7 separate regions of the Homo sapiens genome follow, and all the other regions are linked to region 2. The links are contacts of gene promoters, found by promoter capture Hi-C in blood cells and fetal thymus (Javierre and others, 2016). All regions are on one chromosome and are shown on one strand. Each heading gives the region's core, a stretch centred on a gene start or on the middle of the fragment in contact. The rest is flanking DNA. Distances are from core to core; before and after follow the strand shown. Region 1 has its middle 4.2 kb from the start of LCE6A. Region 2 holds the start of LELP1 (late cornified envelope like proline rich 1). Region 3 holds the start of SPRR5 (small proline rich protein 5). Region 4 has its middle 6.7 kb from the start of LCE1A. Region 5 holds the start of LCE1D (late cornified envelope 1D). Region 6 holds the start of LCE7A (late cornified envelope 7A). Region 7 holds the start of LCE4A (late cornified envelope 4A).

Region 1 (2,948 bases), core at 70-2,569, 360 kb before region 2:
GAGAACTTTGGAGTTCTCTGGGTTTTCTGGACATCCTCTTCCCTGGACAAATTCTCTTAGCCACTGCTTTTGAGCTGAGGGCAAATGTCTCCTGGAGCTCACTGCTGATTAATGAGCAGAACACTTTAATGGGGTGGCAACCACTATTCTTCTTGGATTGTTTCTCCCACCATCGATCCTCCACCCTACAAGTGAGCTGGGACAAAGGACTTTGGTGTCCCAATATTCTTGCCCTGCTGCACCTGAGGTAGAGTGACTGCCTGCCCCATGAGTGGGAGATGGGGAGTAAGAAAGCCCCCAATCTCTTAGAGTCCCCCTCCTGGAATTTAGCCTCTATACCACAGAACTAAGGGAAGAGGTGTAAGAAATGTTGGCAGCCTCCCCCTCACAGGAAGACACTGGAGGCCATGATTTGGAGCTAAAGGGGGATGGAACCTTATCTCATTGATTGCATCTTCCAAGAGTGGAGCTAGCATCATGCCCAACTGGAAGAGATTAGGGAGGGTGCAAGTTGTGATTCAAGTGCCACAGACTATTGTTATTGTTACTATGATTTAGTAGATTTTCTTGAATAAAAGTTTTTTAATTTGCTCTATACCCTTAGGACAATTTGCAAAGGATGATTGCAAAACTTTTTTTTCAAGTCTTAATTATTTTGCTAGGAGAAGGGTCCAAGGAGTTCTTCATGCCACTGTTCTGAAAGTCCTCCCTAAAGGGATTTTTATTTAATTTGTCTTAGGTTTTCCATAAGGCTTTTTAGAAAATACTCTGAATTGAGATTTTATGTATTTATAGATTTCTTTTATAATTTAGTCTTTAAAAGTTTTTTTAACATAGAGTTGTGAACAACCTAAGCTGTGGACACAGTTTTTTTGTATTTATTTATTTATTTTTAATTCTTTTTTTTTTTATACTTTAAGTTCTAGGGTACATGTGCACAATGTGCAGGTTTGTTACATATGTATATATGTGCCATGTCGGTGTGCTGCACCCATTAACTCATCATTTACATTAGGTATATCTCCTAATGCTTTCCCTCCCCACTTCCCCCACCCCACAACAGGCCCGGTGTGTGATGTTCCCCTTCCTGCTGTGGACACAGTTTTAATTATTTTCTTCTAAATCTTAGAAGCTTTCTTTTCTCTTTCTTTGGATGATGAGAAAGGGAAAAAAGAGACTTACTCGTCTGATGAAGAAAACACTACACTAAGCTCTTCTTTTGCCAATGACAATTTATTCTATTGAAATGGAAACTAAACCACTTATATCCAATGGTCTACATCAGGGGCATCCAATCTTTTGGCTTCCTTGGTCCACATTGGAAGAAGAAAAATTGTCTTGGGCCACACATAAAATACTATTAATACTTGGGCCACACAATAATACTAACAATAGATGATGGTCTAAAAAAAATCACAAAAAATTTCATGTTTTAAGAAGGTTTACAAATTTGTGATGGGTCACATTCAAAGCCGTCCTGGGTCACATGGGGCCCACAGGAGTTGAACAAGCTTGGCCTAGATTAACAAGCCAGTTCTGATGATATTATAGTCTTGAGTACAAGTCAGGATAATTGGTGGTTTGGATACCATCCTACCTGGAGGAAAGAGGTAGGACCAGATCTCTTGGCCTTTCTTCCTAAGAAAACATGAGCAGGGCTGGGTTCTAAAATAAGAAGTACCTGTAGAAAACATGATATAGATTTCTTTTATTTATTTATTTATTTATTTATTTTTTTATTATACTTTAAGTTTTAGGGTACATGTGCACATTGTGCAGGTTAGTTACGTATGTATACATGTGCCATGCTGGTGCGCTGCACCCACTAACTCGTCATCTAGCATTAGGTATATCTCCCAATGCTATCCCTCCCCCCTCCCCCCCCACCACAGTCCCCAGAGTGTGATATTCCCCTTCCTGTGTCCATGTGATCTCATTGTTCAATTCTCACCTATGAGTGAGAATATGCGGTGTTTGGTTTTTTTGTTCTTGCGATAGTTTACTGAGAATGATGATTTCCAATTTCATCCATGTCCCTACAAAGGACATGAACACTCCCCTCAAACTAAACTCTTTGGCACAGTCTAAGTAAAAATATAATAGTGTTCAGGAAATATAGTTGAGGTGCCCACAGTGTGATGTGGACAATCCCAAACTCACTGTAAGTGTCTGATTTCATCATGGCCTGAGTCTGTATTTCATCAGAATTAATTGACTCAGGACATAATATTTGAAAAGCATTCTGTAAACTAAAGTTCTTTGCAAACATCTGTGATGGGGATTTTTAAAAACTTAATAATTAACAAACCTAATAACTAGTAACTGTAATGAACCATTGTGTACACTGAAATGGGGCTTGAGATATACAGATAATAGCCCCATGTTCAAGGCATTAACAATATCACATACAAGTACAATTGTTTATGATAATAAATTATATGTATAACAAGTAATAAATGCTCTGAAAGATTTTCTCAGCCAGGCATTGTCTAGAAATTCATTACAGAGAACACGGGATTTGAACTGGCCCTCGGAAGTAGTCTCAGAAGAGGAACCAAGAAAGACAAGAAGTAAGACACAAAGAAAGACAAAAAGAAAAAGAAAAAGAAAGAAAAGAAAAAAGAAAGGAAGAAAGAAAGAAAGGAAAGGAAAGAAAGAAAGAAAGAAAAAAGAAGGAAGGAAGAAAGAAAAAAAGAGAGGAAGAAGGAAGGCAGGCAGGCTGAGGAAATAAGAGGAAGACAAAGAGATAGAGTGGAAAAGGGAGGAAGAAAGAGAGGTAGAGACAGACGGACATCAGACAGGATAAAAGCCAGTTCACCATACAATAAATCCATCCATTCAGCAGAGGAGGAGACATAATGAAAGGAAGTTCCAGAAGTTAAGCATAAAGCGATGGGATAGGTTCGAGTATACACAGGGACTTGAATGCTGGCTAAAGGAATTTAGAT
Region 2 (3,289 bases), core at 765-3,264:
TCACTACATTTTTTACATTGCTGTCACAAATGACTGCCATCTCCATATCTAGATTGGTAGCTTTGGTCCAGAGCTGAACATAGGTGAGGCTGGGTCTCCTGAGATGGGGGTGAGAGCTGCTTCTCAACAGCTTTGAGGAGAGAGAGCTGATGAACAATATTATGGAAGAAAGAGGAAATTCTTATGAAAGGAGTGAGCTGCACAAAGACTATGACTCTATCGCCAATTATTCCAGTGATAGGGGGTTAAATCCCAACCCATTCTCCTCTTTTATTTAGGTTCATTTGAGGTTTAATTGAATATGGCATTATTTATCCTTGTGAATAAACCCCATATGAGGTTTCTCCATCTTCAACTCATGATCTTCTATTCAATAAACACTTGTTAAACTGAAATGAACTGAAGGCCTCAGGTCTCCCCAGTGGCCCAAGGGCCAAAGCCATATTTCCAATAACCACCCAAGAGGGTTGACTCTAACTAAACTCTTCTCAGACTTAAACCCATATTCTTTTAGCACAAATCTGTTCCCCTGTTTCCTCAGCTCTCATTAAAAGTAATACTAACACCCCAAAACCTGGTGAAACATTGTCCCAAAGAGTTAAACAAACGAGTGACTAATACAAATTCTTGAGTTTACATGATAGTAGATTTTAAAAAAAGAACAACTTGCTGAAATGCTGAAACTCTCTCCATTTGTAAGATAACAAAATTGGCTGAAGTCATTGGAGCCAATCTGGCAGACTGGAGTCTGCACAGAAAAAGCGTGCTGATGTCACAGCCAAATTTCCACTGCATGTTTCATACTGACCCTCCCCGAAACTGCACATGTGACCCATGAGGTAGCATGAAGAGATAACTTCCCATGCCCGAGGACTTTTTCCAGCCCTCCCTTTTCCTTCCACCAGTCACCTACTAATACCAGAATCTAATCCCTAACCTTTCCCAATAAAATGACTGCCTTAAAGCCAGCACAGGGAGACAGATTCAAGCTAAACTCTTGTCTCTTTGATGGTCTAGTTGCAGTAAAAAGCTTTTCTTTTCTCAAAAACCTGGTGTCATCGTATTGCCTTCTAGTACACTAGGAAGAAGCCCTTTTGCTCTGGAGTCATCTTCAATTCTTAATTTTCTGCACAGTCAGTAAATAAGTCCCATGAATCTACCTGTCTAATGAGGTCTTTCTCATGGGCACCCAGACCCATGACTGCCTTCCTTCAGATGTGGAGATTTTCATAATTTCTTTAAAACAGTCTCATTCGACTTTTACTTCACCACCCCATCTCCCAATCCATCCTAATATTTAAATACCTTAGGCATAATCATGTCACAATTTTAATCAAAAGTCACTAGAGATTCATTCGTGATGACTGCCACGATGAACCTCCTAAACCTGAGTTCAGGCACCCTGTGTCTAAGCCTACCCACCTTTCGCACTCCAGCCTCCCATCGCCACTCCTAACACACCCCCATTCCAACCACAAAGACCCTGGTCAGGCCTTTAAAAAAGGCAAGGAAGGAATTCTGAGAGGCAAATCTTTGTGCCCTAAGGCAGGATCTGGGGCTAACCCAATTGTGTGGGGTGGTAAGAAGAGGTTTCAGAATCTCACATTAGAAAAATAAAGAAAAGAAGAATGTCAAAATGGCAGTGATCAATTCAGGGTTGCTCTCCTAGAAGGGTGGGGAAGGAGCAGGTTCAGAGGAATTAAACTTTGAGGGTGGAAGAGGAGCTGGAGACCATGTGTCAACAGTGGGCCAGCTTTTCTGCTCCCAGCAACAATGAGCCTCCCATCCTCAGAGCCCAGGACTCTTCACTGCAGCCTCATTTTACCAGCCTGAATGTTGAGGGGTCTAGGGAGGGGTGGGACAGCCAAGGGGGGTGATTCATCATGGCTCTATTCTGGTGTTCAGGGCTTGTTGTGCTGGGAGCTATGGAGTCACACAACAATTGCCCCTCGATGATGCTGCAATGACCTCATAAGTGGAGGTCATTTCCCCTGCCCCCACCCCCAGCTTCCTCAGATCTGGGCAGAGGAACCAAAGGGAAAAGCCACCTTCCCAGGCACAGCCATAACATCCACCTCACTCAACTGCTTGTCAAGTTCACCACCAACACAGAGGGGTAAGTTGCATTTGGACAGGTGGAAGTGGCCACTCTTTGGCCTCTTCTACCCTGGGAGTGACCTGAAGTACCCCACGCACTGAGCAGGGTTGGGAAAGTCATGTTTGAATGAAAGTTTCCTGTTATTTTCAGTGGTAAGAACTGGTGTGTGCTTCACCTTGGAATAGAGTCTCAACAATTTTAGAGTTCAACTTAATAATATGCCTCCCCAGAGAGCTATACTGATTTTAAAACAAAATTTAAAATGTTATTTTTATATTGTTAAAAGAAATCAAAGAAATATAACCAATTAGATCCAACTTGAAGTATTGTGAGGGACTGAAAATCCCTGTCCATATCTAGGAGTTAAACTGTCCGTGCAGAAATGCCTAGCTCAGGGCAAAACTCAACAGGAGAGAAAAGGAATTCCCTTCTGAAAATCACATTTTGTGGCTCTATCATTCAGATTTTCAGAGAAATTGGAATTTCGTGGTTCATCTCCTGATTTCTTCCCTTACCCTATTATTTATCAGAACCTGGATGGAGACAAAGGAGTGGGCAGTTCTAGAGTAGCCCATGGGAACCCACTCATGGCAGGGATTAAATTACTTTCCCTCCCATGGCCTCTAGTAAAGAAAGCAATTCTCAAGGTTCAGGGAACTTAGGTGGGACACAGGATTGAAAGCAGTGTCCTAGGCCCCCAAGTCTGCTAGTGTACCTCCCATCTATCTTCAGAGGAACAGGAAGTGGCCTTAGAGGAGCGAAACTTCTATTGTGCCATGAATGCCTTGAGCAATCTGGTCAAACTTAGGGACTCCTTGGAATCATGTTTCTAAATGAATTAAATACAACATATGGAGTTACAGAGACACCAACTCTACTGAAATACAGTTTCAGTGGGGTGGGGGAGGTGGGGGGTCCAAAACCATAGGTTAAGAACTCCTACTAGAGTCTATAGCATGGAAGCAAGAATAAGTGAAAAGGAAGCAGAGTTAAGGGTGGAGAGATTAAGAAATGCTATCTCAAACTCATACAAGGATGAGGGCGGCCCTAAATGAGAAGATGATCTAGAGCCTGAATGCATCTCAGGGAAGACTTTCTTAAGTACAAGGATAAGCTGTAAGAAGCCTGTAGGTATCCTCTCCCACCTACAATGCATCTCATATTTCTTTGCAGGGCTCAGATAATCAAGAA
Region 3 (3,392 bases), core at 578-3,077, 260 kb before region 2:
TGAGTGATACCAGCTTGAAGGGATTCTCCTCCTGGGAAGGGCTGGACTCCTCTGGCCCTCCTTAGTTACTAGCCCGTGCACATCTTGTGATCCCAGAGAGTCAGGACCATGGTTTAAGAGAGAGAACATCGGTTTCCACACCTGTGTCTTCTAGTGATGCAGCATGACTCCCCAAGGTCTTGGGATGTTCTAAGGCTTTTATTAAATAGTGGAACCATGGCTAAATTTCATGGCTGAGATTTAAAATGTGCCATCTTCAGGACTAGCTTGCCTATTTCCATTTCTCTCACTCAAAAGTCTTTTTTAATGTATTTTTAGGGGAAAAGTAAAAATTATATATATGTACAGTGTACAATGTGATGTTTTGATATATGAATATATTGTGGGATGACTAAATCAAGCTATTTAATACATGTATTACCTCACATATGTATCATTTTTGTGTGGCGAAAACACTTAAAATCTACTCATTTAGCAATTTTCATGTCACATATTGTTATTAACTATAGTCAACATGACTTCCAGTGGATTCCTTGAACTTATTCCTCCTGTCTCTTTCAACCAAGAGCTTATGACACTGGGTGGCAAGTGCCACTACTTGCCTCCAACTTTTTTCAACTTCCTATTCCATATTTCTAAGAGTGTGTCTTGCCCTAGTATTCAAAGCCCATCTCCATGGAGCACCCAACGACTGTTGACCATGCATTTTGTGCCAAACACTTGCACATACTTTAAATAAGTTGTCCATTTTAATCCTTACAACTGACATGCAGAATGGTGCTGTTACCCTCTTTAGCAGGTGAGAAAATTGAAGTGCAAAAACATCTGGTTCCTAAGGTCACCCAACTGGTAAAAGGCAGAGCCTCAGTCTGAGCACCACTTGGGAATTTTTTAAAGATGAGCTCCATCCTTTGCCAGGTATGGGAAGCATCCAAGTCTGTATCCCGTGCCACCCTTCTTTGTCCTGGAACTTCTAACAGAAGTTAGGAGGAAGAGCCAGGACTGGGGCCCCAGGAGCTCAGAACCCAGAATCCAGTCACTGTGACTCCTCCATGAGCTCACTCTAATGCAATGCTTCTTAGCTTCCCCCACCCCCTCCACCTTATGATAATCATTTCCCTGGGAACCCTGGAGTCATATGGATATGTGATATATGTAGGGAGATTTAGAGATAAGCACTATCTACTGTAACCAACCAGTTTCCCCGAATGGGGCCTAACGATTTTCCCAATAGCAGAACAGACAGAGAGTGGCAGCTGCCATTTCTTGTATAAATAACAATAGGTAAAAAATGAAAGCCTCTTGTCTTGTCTTCCCACCAGTTCAAGCTGAATGTGACTCTGAGCCTAGGTCAAGTCAAAGTCACAACTTTGCTGAGGGTGGTGGGTTTCCAAGAGAGCCATCTGCCCCCTCAGCTGTTTTCTTATGTTACCTGCATAAGCTGCCTGTCCCATCCCCTCCTCTCTGCCAACCAGAACATCCCAGAACACTGCCCTCACACCCCCACACCCAGCATGGTCGGAATGCTTGCTTGGGACCATCCTAGATGCCAGGGATCTAAGTCAAAAGTCATGAGTGGGTTTGGAAATCCAAGGAAGCCAGTCCTCGTAAAATGATGGGGAGATGAGGCAAGGGGAGGGTGAAGGCACTGTCATCTCCAAATCCCGCCATACCAGCCCTGGGGGTGAGTAAAACTTAAAATTTGAGGAAGGACAGGTGGATCCTATTGTGACTAGGGACTAATTAGGACACCCCAATCCTGGGCCACCTCATGGCCTCAGGCAGGGATGAGAGGTATATAAAAGGTAGATAGGCTCAGAGCATCCCAAACCCCTCCACACCTATCTGCTCCAGTCGCTGGTGAACCTTGGTAAGTCTGGAAAGGTAGTACCTCTTATAGCAGCCTTGCCTTGCCTGCATCCCTAACCAACTATGGACTGGGCTGATTCTCTGGGTGGTGGTCAGAAAGGATGGGTCTTTTGGGGTACCTCTTTTTTCCATATCATTTGTGACAAACCTATCTTGGGTCCAGCAAGTTATCCAGCAGAGTAGTGTGGGAGGCTGGGCTGAGCAGGGAGAAGGAGGGGGGTATCTACAAGAGGGTCAGTATCTCAGCGATGCTGCTGGCATGGTGTGGGTGTTGCATCTTGTCAGGTGCTAAGAGGGAATTAGTAGGAGAGGAGAGACCAGTTCTGGGCAGAGCAACTGGAAGGACTGTCCTTTCAAAGAAAAGAGAAGGCAGGAAGGAAAGAGAACAGACTCCCTTGGGACAGCAGAGTTGTGGATGTCCATGGAGCAAAGGGCTGCAGGGACAAGACGATGTGGCACCATGGAAGGCTCTGCTCTGGGAATCAGGAGACCTCTTTTCCCACCATCTATGCCGAGTGGCTTTGAAGCCATTCCTTCCCTCTGAGGTTTGCTTTCCTCAACTGTAATTGAGAGAGGCAAGCTAGATAGTCCATTTCATCTATCTCTAGAGTTTTCTCTTTATAAACTCCTTTAGAGAGTGGTTAAGATGCGCCTTTTAAATTGTTTATGAATTTACTTAACAAATTACAACTCTTATATAGTGTTCATTTTGTGCTACTACTCTGCATGTGTGTGTCGGTACATACATACCTACGTATGCATGCATATTTTAAGTATGTATTTTATATACTCATTTAATTTTTGCACCAACTCTAAGAGAGGTAAGTATGGAAAACCTTAGTTGCTCAAAATCATATAGTTAATAAATGATTTAGCCAGAACTCAGATCCCAGGCAATTTATTCCAGATGCCACAGGTTTTGCTATAATAGGATACAACAGTCTGCTCTTTCATTCTTCCTCTTTTTTTTCCTCTCTCTCCCTTTTCTTTTTTTATGTTTTTCTTTCTTTTCAACCCCTCCTAACATTTCTGTTTTCCCTCCCTTCCTCCTTTCCTATCTTTCCTTCCTTCCATGTTTCTTTGTCTTGAAAAGAGTTGAAATAACTTGTAAACACTTAAAGTTTACACATGCGCGCGCGCACACACACACACACACTCCTCTTAAATCTGTGAAGGGATCAGGGCAAGGTAAAAGCAGAGCAGGACAGGAATGTGGCAGGGGGTTCACCTGGGCTTAGGGTCTCTCTATGGCTCAAGTGTTCCTCATTTCTGTGTCTTTCTGTTTCCAGTTGCAAGTCCAGCCCAGAATGTCTCAGCAGAAGCAGAAGCAGTGTGCTCCCCCGCAGCAGTGCTGCCCCCCACCCCAGCAGCGCTGCCCCCCACCCCAGCAGTGCTGCCCCCCGCCTCAACAGTGCTGCCCCCCACCCCAGCAGTGCTGCCCGCCGCCTCAACAATGCTGCCCCCCTCCCCAGCAGTGCTGTCCCCCACCCCAGCAGTGCTGCCCTCCACCTCAGCAGTACTGC
Region 4 (3,392 bases), core at 146-2,645, 380 kb before region 2:
GAAATATATTTTGAAAATACAGTTTTCCCACTAACTACTTCTGAAATCAGTTTAGTTCGAGGCATATCTTTGTGTAAAAATTGCACTTGTATTAACCTTCCATTAAATGTCTCTTTCTTCCTCTTCCATCTCCATTAAATTCTCTGCACTTTTTTCCAGAACACATTCCCTATACCACATGTCTGAAATTGTCACTCTACTTCCTCAAAACAGAGGCTTTCTATAGAAAAATGCATGTGCTTCTTAAGTATTACATTTGAGACTCAGCAGGAATTGTTTCCAACTTCTTTTCTAAGGTTTACCATTCATACTTCCCATGACACCCCATGTTCTTGCCGCACTGAGCAACTCATAACTTACACTTGTATATATTCATCCTTTTTTTTCTGAGAAGCTGTAAGTAGAATTTACTATTCATAGCTCTGTATCTAGAATACTATAAGTCTTCAATAAAGAGTAGCTTCTCTTGATATTTTATAAGTGTTGCCACTACTACTACTGCTACCCTTAGTATCACTACTAACTACTGTAATCATTACTTACTATTACTATTAGCAGCATTACTTGCTATTTCCTCTATCTGAAGTTCCTCCAAATCTCTCCCCACCATCTGGACATTGTGTAATTCTGTCCCTCTTTTAAGGTTCACCTCAAATGTCATCCTTCTATGAAATCTTATCCGATTGTGTGTTTTCTTAAGCTGGTGGATGTTAAAAAATCTGTCTACAACCCTCACATTGAGCAAGCTTAGCTTGGAGGATGTAATAAAATTATAGCTTTTTAAAAATTTAAAAATTTTAAAAGTAAAATTGTCCTTAAAATTTTACTCAGTGGGATGGTTTTCCTTCCTAAATGACAAGTTGAAAGGCCAACTGACTTTACAGCTCTTTCAAAGTAATGCAAAATGATTTGTTACTTGAAATCACAAACGTGGGCCCAGTGCAGTGGCTCCTGCCTATAATCTCAGCACTTCGGGAGGCCCGAGAGAGAGGATCACTTGAACCTAGGAGTTTGAGACCAGGTGCGGCAACAAAGCAAGACCCCATTTCTAAAACAAAAAAATTACAAACTTGGTTTCAGTTCAGTAATGAAATATCCAGTCAGAAAAACAATATCAACGCCAAATTTGACTGGTTGGTTGATTGATTTTTTTTTTTTTTTTTTGAGACAGAGTCTCACTTTGTTGTGCAGGCTGGAGTGCAGTGGTGCAATCATGGCTCGCTGCAGCCTCAACCTCCTAGGCTCAAGTGATCCTCTCACCTCAGCCTACTGAGTAACTGGGACTACAGATGCACACCACCATGCCAGGCTGATTTTTGTATTTTTTTTTTTTTTTTAGAGACAGGATTTTGCCTGTTGTCCAGGGTGGTCTCGAACTCCTGGCCTCAAGAGGTCTGCCTGCCTCGGTCTGCCAAAGTGCTGGGATTACAGGCACAAGCCACTCTCCCCGGCCCCAAATTTGACTGAATGGCATATTTGCCCATATCCCTGCTCCAGTGGGCTGGCCCACCATACCAGAGAAAGGGAGCCTGGTCCTTCTACTCATTCCCCACCTAATGTCTGTCCTTCTCCAGCTTTCTAAATGTATTTTCTGAATGGAGAACAAAGAAAAGGCTCAGTCTGACATGTAGGCGCAATATCCTTCTGATACTGGAGCAACCAGGAAGCAGAATCCAATTTCTGACTCCTCCACTCTTGGGCATTTTAGTGTCTCCCCTCTATCTGTGATGTGAGTGATGCCTCTCCAGGGTGAATTTCTTGAAGTTCAGCCTTGGTTCCAGAATCTTCTCTTAGACAGTGGATAAATGGCTAAGAACAGTTGGTCTTGACAATGTGATCAACATCTGGTCATAGAAAGCACTCATGCATCATTTGACCCATGCTTGCAGAGGAACTAGAAACTCATCTTTGCTTAGATGACAAAACTGGTTTCATTTCCTCCATGTTTCCTGAGGGAAGAGTCGGGTCCTCATTCTGTATATCCCCCATATCAGGGACTCACCTGCAGGCTCCTCCCAGGGAAAGGACAAAGAGGGCAGGATCCTAAGCTTCTAGTCCTAGGAAATTCTCTTTCTTCCTTTTGTTTGCCGGAAATCTAGAGGATTTTTCTTATCCACCACAAGTCCCATTCTGATAAAATACTTATCTGTAACTTTCACATAATTAAACCCCAAACCTTGAGACTGGTGCAAATTTAAAAAAAAAAAAAAGAATGTAATAGTATATATATATATATATATATATACACATATATACACACACACATATATGTATGTATATATACACATATACGTATCTATGTATACACATATGTATGTATACATATATATACTATTAAATCTCTCTCTATATATATGTATATATACACAAAGAATTAAAATATGATGATGCAGGTGATGGTTATCAATGGGGAAAAGATGGCTATTCAATACCTGGAGTTAGGGAATTTTGATAACTGAAAAAAAAACGTAAACCCTCATTTAGTATTAGATGCCAAGACAAAATCCATGGGATTAAATATTTTGAGGAAATCGAATTATAAAGAAAGAAGTACTTGTAGCTAAATGTTTATCTTCTCCCAGGATTGAGAAAAACATTCTCAATATAAAAACAATTAAAGAAATTATAAAGAAAAATAAGCACAAATACATGCATATTAAATTAAATATTTTGCTAGAGAAGAGGAAAACAAAATTAAGTAAAATAATTTTTTGAAATATTTTAATATATATGAAATATAATAGAGTAATACCTTACTATATAAGTATGTGTTAAATTTTACATATGTATAAATTTCTTAAATAAAATATTTTACACAGATACAAACTTAAAAGGATTTCCTGGTAAACACTGCATGCATGTATTTTCCACTCATATTGAGAAATAAATAATCATAAATATGATTGAAACCATCCCCTTATATATCCCTTCTACCTAGAGATATTCATTATTCTGTATTTTGTGTTTTTCCTTCCTGTGCAATGCATATACTTTCCTGTGCTTATCTATCCTTAACTTATAATTTATTTATAAGTTAAAAATGTAACAATTCCTCTGTACTTAACTATACTTTATTTGTACTTAGCTATATTTTATTTATAACTTATTTCTATATTAGTTATAATTTGTATTTTTAATTTTCTAAAAGTGATCTACTCCATGACTTTGAGACATTTATCTATGTTGATACAGATGACTCAATTTCATTTTCATTTATTCTCACTATTGTATAGCATTCCAGTGTAAGAATATTCATACTTTACTTATGCATTCATCTGAAATTGGGTACTTACCTTGTTTTCACTTTGTACTTTATAAAAAGTGCTACTTTTTAACATTCTTACACATACTTTGGAACCTTTGCATCCAAGGCATACACTTATGAGAAGAAT
Region 5 (3,306 bases), core at 489-2,988, 410 kb before region 2:
GAGTCTTATTTCACTGAAGGAATTTGGACATTTACCCTTATACAGTGTGCAATCATGAACAAGACTTTACTAATGATTTAGTGTTAATTATGTACAGGGATGGAAGATGTTTTCTTGGATGTCATAAAAGAACAGAATCAAAGACACACTACAGTGTTTGGAGATACTACGTTATCACAGGAGTCTGGGCAGCTGTAATAATTGATGCTCTGAGACAGGTGGTACACACACATATACATCTCTCTCAATATGTATGCTCTGTATATGTGTTTATAAATATACATGTATCTCCACCACGTTTTGGTTAGGGTCACCATGTCCATTTTGACCTAGATATCATTCCCAAGTTCTGGGCATATCCAGAGTCTGTCAGGGGCTGGGAAGAAGAGGACTTGTCCCTCATATGGTTTAATCTGGCTTTTCTTGGTCTTCCTCTGAAGAAATAGTTTAATTTGTGGATAACCTTGCAGTCATGGCTGTCTTAGTGACTAGTGTGTCCTAGAATGAACAGCAGCCCATTTCATTAATATCCTAAAAATGTATAAATTCAGAACACTCCATTCATATAAATCCTGTGGACATGTAGAAAGCTAGTGATTCTAGTGGAGAGAGAGGAGAGGGGCTTCCAAAGTAGCAGCATAAACACATTCACATTAAATATTAAGGACTCTTGTTCTTAAAAGGCACCCGTCCCCTTATGGTCCAGGACGGGGTTCTGCCAGCCATTTGACCCCACATGGAAGCGTAGACTTATAATGTCTCACAACCATGTCTCTTTTCTTCCTGTTTCTCATCTGTGACCATCATCCGGTGCTCCCAGTGTGAACCCAGAAAAGTCCAAATTCTCACACCAATACAAAGAGCAGAGCTGCTGCTTCTTGTTTCTCTAATGAGCTGCTTCCTTGTTCACATCTCAGTGCTGACACATCAAGGACCCCACCAGAAGAAAAGGGCTATTTAAAAGCAAACAGATCACCAAACAGCCAGACTCACTCTCATTAGAAAAAAGCTGTGCTTCGTTTGTTAAACAAAGATCAGTATCTTCATTCTGTATTCAGCAAGTTATGAATGTTTCACTTATTCAGAGCCTACAATGTTTCAGTCTCTCTGTCAGGCACATTTTCTCTTTTTTGTGTTACTTTATTGACTTTCACAACCAACTAATTCTTCTGTAACTAATTCTTTTTCATCTTCCAGCTTTATGGTTTAAAAAATGGTACAGGCTAAATAGTTTCAACAGTCCCATCTCGCAGGGCCTGGTCCTGGGCCGGGTTATACTTCCAGGGTTTTACTTGTGTAGATGTCTACACTGCACCCACAGCCACACAGTTTGGTGGTGCACAGGGACAGAAATAAACATGCATGGAAACCTCAGGGATTAGTACTTCAACTTCAACCCAGGCTGCACGGAGCATCAGGTACTTCGGAAGAGACAGAAATGAGATAGGTCCTAAGTTCTAAGACTGAGAACTGAGAGGCTCTCAGGGCAAGCAGCCTTCAAGTGAATGAGGTAGGTGATGGTAGGAGTCATCCTGGAACCCCGTTTCAAGTAGGCACTTTCCTACCTGGGAGTGGCTGCCTTGAGCCTGGGGAGAGAGGCAGGTGAGGAGCTGTCAGTCACCAACCATCACAAGACCCACGTGGGTGTCAGAAGGAAGGTCCTCTCATGCCCAGGCCCTGTCTCACAGCTGGGGCAGAGCCCAGGCCAGGATAAAAGGGCTCAGGGCCAGACCACCCCATCCACTCACCTCCTGAGGTGCTAAAGAACCCTGTGCTGCCTGTGACTCCGGTAAGAACAGAGCAGGGATGCTCAGAACAGAGCAGGAGGGAAGGAGGGGCAGGGCCTCCGGGGCTAGGGCCATGTTGTCAGAGGTGGAGAGTTTAGAAAAGACTGAAGGGGCGGGGGCCAAAAGGGGTCTGGCACTAACTGGGAGCAGGAAGGAAAAGAGGAAAAGAGCTGGCGGGCTGTGCCATGTGCCTTTGAACTCTAGAGGAAACAAACTGCTCTGGGATGAGGTGGGTGTTCCAGAGTGGGAACTTTGAAGCACAGAGACCTGCTCCACTCTGGCAGCCCACAGGAGGGAAGCCCACCTCTGAAGATACAACCCTGTCTCTGCCTGCAAGGGAAGAACTGGAGCTGTGGACATGGGACTAAAGACTCTTTGGGGTTTATGAACCCCACATTTTCATGGGTCTGAGATTTGTTCACAAACTTCCCAGCTTGGTTAGGACACACCAAGCCTGAGACCCACCGTGTCATCCCATCAGCCTGAGCAGGTGGTGAGTGAGGAAGTCTGAGCTCCAACCTGAGATCAGGGGGTCAGGGTTCAAGTACTAGTCTGCAGAAACTGCTAAGTTTATCTGTCTCTATTGAAGTGAGTTTACTGACCTAGTAGTCTCCAAGATCCTGCACAATGCTGACCTTCCAAAGTAAAATCGTCTTGCAAATTATGACCAGAGAGAATGACTGCTTCTTCTCCTTTAAAAATAATTTTCTCTTAAATGACTCATAAATTAGACAATTTCAGTCTTAAGATATATTTGTAATAATTTCTTCCTCCACTGACAACACATCAGAATCTTAGATGCATTTTGCAATATTGTTTAGTCTTAGTTTACAGTTGTCTGACATCCAAAGATATCTTGAAAAAGATGATGTGAGATTTTGAGGAAATTATTGGAAATAAAACTACTGAAGATGATGCTTTTAAACTTGAGAGGTGCTAAGAGTGTCACAGGGGCAGAGGTGGCCTCTGCCTGGGTCTGACTTGTTATTTGACTCTCCCTCAGCTCCTGAACACCCACCACCGAGATGTCCTGCCAGCAGAGCCAGCAGCAGTGCCAGCCCCCTCCCAAGTGCACTCCCAAGTGCACTCCCAAGTGCCCCGCCCCTAAATGTCCCCCTAAGTGCCCTCCAGTCTCTTCCTGCTGCAGTGTCAGCTCCGGAGGCTGCTGTGGCTCCAGCTCTGGGGGCGGCTGTGGCTCCAACTCTGGGGGCTGCTGCAGCTCTGGGGGTGGTGGCTGCTGCCTGAGCCACCACAGGCGCCACAGGTCCCACCGTCGCAGACCCCAGAGCTCTGACTGCTGCAGCCAGCCCTCGGGGGGCTCCAGCTGCTGCGGTGGGGGCAGCAGCCAGCACTCTGGAGGCTGCTGCTGAAGTGGACCTTGACTTCCTCTTCCTTCTGATTCTGCCTGAATAGCTGAGAGGTTCCAGCAAAAGCTTGAAGTCTTGCCTGGAGAATCCCTCTGCTCTGGTGTCAGGAAACCCAAAATCTTTCTCCTTAATGGCATTTAGAGACTTTCTTC
Region 6 (3,320 bases), core at 356-2,855, 340 kb before region 2:
ACAGGGTTTTGCCATGTTGGCCACGTTGTCTCGAACTCCTGACCTCAGGTGATCTGCCCGCCTCAGCCTCCCAAGGTGCTGGGACTACAGGTGTGAGCCAGGAGCCTTACTTTTTCTGTAAAATGAGATTAACAAAAAGACACCCATAAAGCTATTATACTATGATAATTCAAATAACATATTTAAAGAATAAATATTAATTCCCTTTCTTTCTCTCATATTATCTCACTTGGACCATTCTCTAAGGACAAGAAAATATCTTAATTTTCTTTGAATTCACAAAACTCTGCAAGTATCAGGCACTCAACAAATGAATTAACATCTTTAAAGTAGCATTTGAAAAGTTACTACAAAAAAGGAGTTTCTGTGGACATAAATAATTCTTCATTATTGAACCAGAAGGTCATTGATGGGTATTAGACCAACACAATAAAATGGTGTTTTCCAACCTTTTTAAATATACTTGTAATACTTTTTGTCAGAAATATCACAGGGAAAGAGCATCATTTTGCCTATCTCTACAGATCTGGGCTTCAGTGGCTCAGAAGAAGAGCCAGAAGAGGCACAACCAGAAGAGAACCACATATATACACTATACTCTGCTTTGGCACAACAAGGCAAGATGTTAAGTCATTTCCTCTGATAAGTGGGAGAAACTGAATAGACTGTATGGAGTTCCTCCCTCATAATGTGACTTACTTTCAACTATCTCACACCCTGGCATAGTCAACATTCCAGCCATCATCTCCACCCTCTTCATCAAGTTCACTGCCACTTCCAATCCCAGATAAAATATATTCAGGGACAAGATCAGACCTGTGCTGAGTGTAAGCTCCGTGGAGTTCTGAGGCTCATAAATAAAAATACCTACTTGAAGATATACCTAAGATAATCTGGTCCAGCCTCTCCTGAAACCCAGAAAGAGCAGCAGAGCAGGGACCAGAGCACTGACTCACAGTGCAAAGCTCCTGCTGCTGACTCCATCCCTGGAGCAGCTTCCCACACCTGCCCCACAGGCCTGCCACTGACCTGGCCTCCCAGGCTACTCTCTCTCAAGGAGTGAAAGGAGGGGAGACCTTTGCCTCAACCACAGATCACCCATTAACTCATTAAACAAATACTTTTGAGCACTTACATTATGTCAGATTCTGTGTAGGTGCTGGAGATAAAGAGTGAACCCATGAACACTGAGATTTCATTCTATCCAGGACGACAGATATTGAAAAACAAATACAAGCAAGTGTTACCAGAAATACAAGGTGCCATGGGAGCATTTCATAGGAGAAACAATACAATTGAGATTGAAGGTGCAAGGATCCAGAGAAAAGGGCTAGGGATAGGTGTTGGAAAAGACAAGGGGCCACTCCTCCCCTGTAACACAGGAAGTCATGAAGGATGGCTGCAGATGTAAGTGAGCTTGAAGACTTAGGAGAAGGAAGCGGAAGTGCTTTATGTTTGACAGGAACTCTTTGCTCCATATGGTAGAGGCAGTACCATCTATCTAGAGGCAGTAGTGAAGGTTTGGAAGATTCAAGGGAGGAGAAAAGCCATGAGGTATGTGCATGGTGAATACAGGGAGGTATACGGGGATCACCAAGCCATGTTTTGGACCAGCCAAGGTGGATGATGGTGATTTTATGATGGTGTCATCCTGCCAAAATGTCTATTTTTGTTTTCATTTTTATAGCAACTAGGCACAACAGGGAGAATTCAGCCAGGGATAAGGCTTTGCCAGTCAAATGCAGTGACAAGCCAAATGGGTAACAAAAGAAAGTTTATTATATTGGCAAAAGAGTAGTTGAAACAATGAACTAAGAAAAGTGAACTGGGTGGGGAGTGGCATGAAAAAAGGAGGGAGCTTGTGGGCAGGGGAGAGACTAGATCCTAGTGGATGTACCCAAGCAAATCCAAAAGAAGGGGCTGCTGTGAAATGGGGGCCTGAATTGATGATCTCAGAGAGTTAGAAGATATGGTTTCTAGTTCAGACTCTGCACAACTTTGAGGTCTCCATTGCCCCCTCTGGCCATATGTTCCTGACCTACGTAGAGTGGAAGTATCCTAAATCCGCTTGCAGCTGGGACTTTCTATGATGCCACATGGTTGATCAATATTTTAGGCACTTTGGTATCTGAATCAAATACACTGAGCCCTCAGTATTGGCCCATGTGTGCTTAGATTATTGGTTCCCATCTTATTGATAATGCCTGCAGAAACCCCGATCAGTGCCTGTGTTGATCTAACATCTGTGACTTTAGATGCCCAGTCATGTTTTGGATTCCTCCAGAAACCCTAATTTCAATTCCCAAGCTATGTCATTATAAATACCCTTCTAAGTCATGATCTTCTAATCTTTATGGAAATCCTGTGAGAGTTTATGAAGGGGAAGGATGCTCTGGGGGATCTGTTAGTGACACAGGGTGACAAAGTGACAGAATGACAGAGCCACTGGAATGTGGGAAGTTGACATCACAACCACCTGGTTGGGAAACAGTTTTCACATCATCTGTGGCTCATTCTCTCTAGTTGAATGCAGTGTGTGTATAAAAGGCTCCCGCTCACAGTGTATCTATCCGTAGTCCCATCGTTTGCCCAGGGTTAAGAGGACAAGGTGAGTGTTTTTACTGATCTGATGGCAGTTTGGGGATGACTAGGGCTGCTACACCTCCTTTTGGAAAAGCCATTCAAAGTTGGAGAGAATGGAAATTGATAATTCCAGGAAGACCAGGCTCATGGCAATCATCGAGGTGGTTCAGAAGCAGCAAACCCAGAAGGAGTGAAGTTAACCAGAGACTGGGGCAGTGCAAGTGTTTGTAGGGCAAGAGACAGCCACGCAGGGCTGAAGAGTAGGGCTAAAGGTACAGCTCATGATGCAAGAAAGAAAAAAAGGGAGATGATGATGAGAGGTGACGTAACCATAGACTCAGGTTAAAAATGTGGTTTTTAGAATGCATAAATTAGAAGATAGGATAATAAGTAAGTGAAGATTTGGGGGACTACATAGTGCCCTAAGCAACTGCCTTTGAAGTCAGGAGTCTTGAGAGAATCAGGCCAGGCACAAGAGAAGATGTCACCAGACTCTAACTTACTCACTGCTGAATCTCTCCTATGTCAGGAAAGCAGGGCTGCTCTGCTATTATGATGTGGCTTCTGGAGCCACATATTCAACTGTAGAATTTCGGGCTCTGTAGAAAAATGTTGATACAAACAAGGTTTACATTAATTAGACTTTTGAAATGTTTGCATTGTTTTTTAGAGTAACTGGACTTTCTCCAAGATGTCCTATCAGAAACACCAGCAGAAATGGCAGCTCCCTGCCAAGT
Region 7 (3,200 bases), core at 127-2,626, 500 kb before region 2:
ACAAGGTTAATTCATTGTATTTCTCACATAACTGAGGCAGTGCTGGTCACAGATTAAGAGCTCAATGTGGTAGGTTGTTGCTTGTTACCACATCCCTCTATAGCTGATGATTTGCTTGCCAGAAACACCATTAACATGGGGCACTGGATTGGGAGAGAGATGGAAAATGGGAGGACATTCCTACAATAATACTTGCCAGAAAATCTGCCTTCCACAACAATTCCGTTCCTGCTGTCTAATACTCATTTTCTGAGTTAGTAATAGCAGAAATTACTATAAAAGTAGGTAATTTCTGTCTTTACAGAGAGGAAATATAGGCTGGGGGTTTAGTCATCTTCCTTGTCATCATTATCAATGTCTTCATGTTCATTAATATCAGCTAACTTTTGTCATTGTTAGACATCTATTTTGCATAGTAGGTATTTCCAGAAGTACCTCGTGATTATATGTGTATATACGTATAACATATATGATATACATAAGGAGAAATAAATCAATCTTAATGGGTTGCATGAAGAGTTGTATCCTATATAAACCTTTTGAGAATTAGAGCAACACACACCAAATTTCTTTTTCTTGTTGGTTTAGAGTGTTTTGATGGGTAAAAGGGAAGAGTTTTTTCTATGATGGGAAAAATATTTTCCTCATAATGATCTTCTTATATGTTTGTTGAAGAAAAAAAATCAGTCCTTTTTTTAAAAAATGGTTGCAATAAATGCAACTTGTGTGTGTGTGTGTGTGTGTAGTTGACAGACAGATACTTCCACAAAAGGTTCCTGAATTGGTAAAAGTCTCAAGTCTCTGATCTGTGCTCATGAGCTACTTAAATGCAGCAGAATCACATACACAACACACAACAGAAAAACTCAGAAACTCCTACTCAAAAGGCCCCTTGATGGTGACACATTCCTTGGTAACCCAAATAGAAGTAGTCAAATATGATAGCCTTTGAATTCCAGGCTGAAGGGTTCATAGAAGAGAAATTCTAAAGAGAAGAGTGGCTGACCGAGGGGCATCTCTCTCCACAGTTAGGACTGGGGACTTGGCCTGGTCTAAAAGCATGGGAGATACTCTCTAAAAGAGTAAGGAGGCCTATGGCACCAAACCAGCCTCTCAGGATTGACTGACCTGGGAAAGGCCCAGAGCCTCTGGCTGAAATTTGGCTGGAATATGTTAGGGGCTAAATGTGGGGCAGTCTTGGAGCCTTTGGTGCCAAAGTTCTTCCTGAGGGACTGAGCAAAGCGTGTTCAGAGGGAGGCTTGAAAGGTAAGTACCCATAGCCTTAAACCCCTCTGTTTGCTGTACATTGAGACCTTAGCCTGGGAAAAGGGTCTGATTTACAGAAAGTCTCATATAGTCACCCCCTCTCCCACTAGTGCCGAAGAGGCTATCTGGGAAGCTCATCATCCAGCTCAGGAAGAGATGAAACCAGGAGGCAGGAGAATGTCAGGCATGACCCCACACTTGTGCAACAGCCACGTCCTGCTCCTGCCATTAGCATGGCTCATCCGAGGCCCAGCCCCAGGATCCATACAAAGTGTGTTCCTGCTGCTGGCTTCTCATCTGCTCTGCTTCCTAAGGGACGTATCTGTTGCTGCGTCTGAACCCACGGTGAGTGTTTCTATAGGAATCCAGAGGGGGACGCTAGCGGGATGAAGATGGAGATGGAGAGTAATTCTGGAAGTCGAACAGTGAAGCGTGGAGTAGGAGGAGGATGACATGGTGGACAAGGCCAGAAGGCCAGAAGTAGTAGTTGGCTCTGGACAAAGCAGGAACCAACCTGGGAAGGATTATCCCTGTGATCAGACAGGAAGATGATGAATGACCTGGGATTGCTACATCCCTACCAATGGTTGGCCTGCTGGTCCTAAGCCCATTGCTCTGAAGGAAGCTTTTCTCTAACCGTGCAGATCTCAAATTTATTATTATTTATTAAACAGATTTTCTACGAATTTCTGAATTCCATTTCTAGATAAATTCATGTGGGTAGAATTGCAATGTATTTAACATGTCTTTGAGATGGCATTCAAATTTTGCTGGCTTTATTAGCTCAGAAGTCACTTATTAACCACCTAACAAATACTAAGAATTTTTGAAAGCTCTAGGGGTACAAAAGTAATGAAGATATACTCTTTGTCTGAAAGAGGTTTCTATACATGTCCATATTTTAGATATTCCTCTTCATCACCTTGGGGGAGGATTTTAAAATAAAAAAAAATGTAATGGCTCTTGATATTAAGTTTCTGTATATGTTTCTATTTTGTCATTCAGGTTTATCGAAATCCCACCAAGATGTCCTGCCAGCAGAACCAACAGCAGTGCCAGCCCCCTCCCAAGTGTCCTATCCCCAAGTATCCCCCAAAATGTCCCTCAAAGTGTGCATCCTCATGCCCACCTCCAATCTCTTCCTGCTGTGGCTCCAGCTCTGGGGGCTGTGGTTGCTGCAGCTCTGAGGGAGGTGGCTGCTGCCTGAGCCACCACAGACACCATAGGTCCCACTGCCACAGACCCAAGAGCTCCAATTGCTATGGCAGTGGCAGTGGCCAGCAGTCTGGGGGTTCTGGCTGCTGCTCTGGAGGGGGCTGTTGCTGACCTGGACCAGGAGCAGCACCAAAGGAATTAGTGGGCGAAGGACCCATTGCAGCCTGGTGTTTTACCTCCTTCACTCTCTTGCCTTTCCTTTCTGTAGCCCCATCAATTGAATAAACATGCAGGTTTGCGTCTCATCAACTTCAGGCCTTGGATTTGCATTATTTTAGCTTTATGTCAATATTTATATTTCTCAGATTATTGAAAAATTTTCTGATGTGCTTTGCAACAGTAAATTTACTTTCAAGTAATTTTCTAGTCCCAGTTTGATGGTGGTTTTTATTCCACTTTTCTTCACTTTTACCTAAATCCCAATCCTTTTCCTAGATAGAAAGATAGATTTATAGCTTTTACTGAAATAGAGAAAAATCAACCAATTAAACTTTAATGAATTACTTATTTGTGTACACATACCTTCACGAAAATCTAAAATTCTGCAGTATTTGTGAAAACAATAAATAAGGATTGATTAGAATTCCAAGATAAACCTAACTTAAATTTAAAAAAAAATTAGTGGTGAAATAGCCAAGTCAGTAAAGTTGTTTGGACAGAAAAATCTAATTTACTTAAGTTAAAAAAATGTACTTACTGCTCCATACATTTTCTAAAGC

The links. The method cuts DNA at HindIII sites, captures the fragments that hold promoters and counts their contacts. A CHiCAGO score of 5 or more calls a contact.
Region 1: a fragment that was not itself captured here is called in contact with the fragment with the promoter of LELP1 in region 2 in 1 of 17 cell types (endothelial precursors); the score reaches 6.2 in endothelial precursors.
Region 3: the fragment with the promoter of SPRR5 here is called in contact with the fragment with the promoter of LELP1 in region 2 in 2 of 17 cell types (endothelial precursors and M1 macrophages); the score reaches 5.8 in endothelial precursors.
Region 4: a fragment that was not itself captured here is called in contact with the fragment with the promoter of LELP1 in region 2 in 1 of 17 cell types (M1 macrophages); the score reaches 7.6 in M1 macrophages.
Region 5: the fragment with the promoter of LCE1D here is called in contact with the fragment with the promoter of LELP1 in region 2 in 5 of 17 cell types (M2 macrophages, megakaryocytes, M1 macrophages and 2 more); the score reaches 7.0 in M2 macrophages.
Region 6: a contact is called between a fragment that was not itself captured here and the fragment with the promoter of LELP1 in region 2, in 5 of 17 cell types (M2 macrophages, endothelial precursors, erythroblasts and 2 more). The highest score is 8.9, in M2 macrophages.
Region 7: the fragment with the promoter of LCE4A here is called in contact with the fragment with the promoter of LELP1 in region 2 in 5 of 17 cell types (M0 macrophages, endothelial precursors, M2 macrophages and 2 more); the score reaches 8.7 in M0 macrophages.

The regions. Positions count from the first base shown.
Region 1 is chr1:152,837,181-152,840,128 of GRCh38, forward strand. No RefSeq gene overlaps it. Among named protein-coding and RNA genes, the nearest start is that of LCE6A, 4.2 kb to the right of the region's middle. The HindIII fragment of the contact is 379 bases long and covers 1,131-1,509 here.
Region 2 is chr1:153,201,416-153,204,704 of GRCh38, forward strand. It overlaps LELP1 (late cornified envelope like proline rich 1), which reads left to right and starts at 2,015. Exons shown (of 2, transcript NM_001010857.3): 1 at 2,015-2,116; 2 at 3,272-3,289. It also overlaps a transcript of SPRR2G not described here. The HindIII fragment of the contact is 8,615 bases long and covers 1,029-3,289 here.
Region 3 is chr1:152,945,379-152,948,770 of GRCh38, forward strand. It overlaps SPRR5 (small proline rich protein 5), which reads left to right and starts at 1,828. Exons shown (of 2, transcript NM_001395435.1): 1 at 1,828-1,870; 2 at 3,159-3,392. The coding sequence starts at 3,177. The region is part of intron 1 of LINC01527 (long intergenic non-protein coding RNA 1527); the gene reads right to left. The HindIII fragment of the contact is 11,414 bases long and covers 1-3,392 here.
Region 4 is chr1:152,819,119-152,822,510 of GRCh38, forward strand. No RefSeq gene overlaps it. Among named protein-coding and RNA genes, the nearest start is that of LCE1A, 6.7 kb to the right of the region's middle. The HindIII fragment of the contact is 1,302 bases long and covers 745-2,046 here.
Region 5 is chr1:152,794,983-152,798,288 of GRCh38, forward strand. It overlaps LCE1D (late cornified envelope 1D), which reads left to right and starts at 1,739. Exons shown (of 2, transcript NM_178352.3): 1 at 1,739-1,789; 2 at 2,791-3,199. The coding sequence starts at 2,813. The coding sequence ends at 3,157. The HindIII fragment of the contact is 8,213 bases long and covers 1-3,218 here.
Region 6 is chr1:152,857,424-152,860,743 of GRCh38, forward strand. It overlaps LCE7A (late cornified envelope 7A), which reads left to right and starts at 2,573. Exons shown (of 2, transcript NM_001395990.1): 1 at 2,573-2,608; 2 at 3,254-3,320. The coding sequence starts at 3,275. The HindIII fragment of the contact is 4,401 bases long and covers 1-3,320 here.
Region 7 is chr1:152,706,784-152,709,983 of GRCh38, forward strand. LCE4A (late cornified envelope 4A) reads left to right here and starts at 1,377. Exons shown (of 2, transcript NM_001387222.1): 1 at 1,377-1,611; 2 at 2,272-2,651. The coding sequence starts at 2,293. The coding sequence ends at 2,592. The HindIII fragment of the contact is 2,492 bases long and covers 1-1,889 here.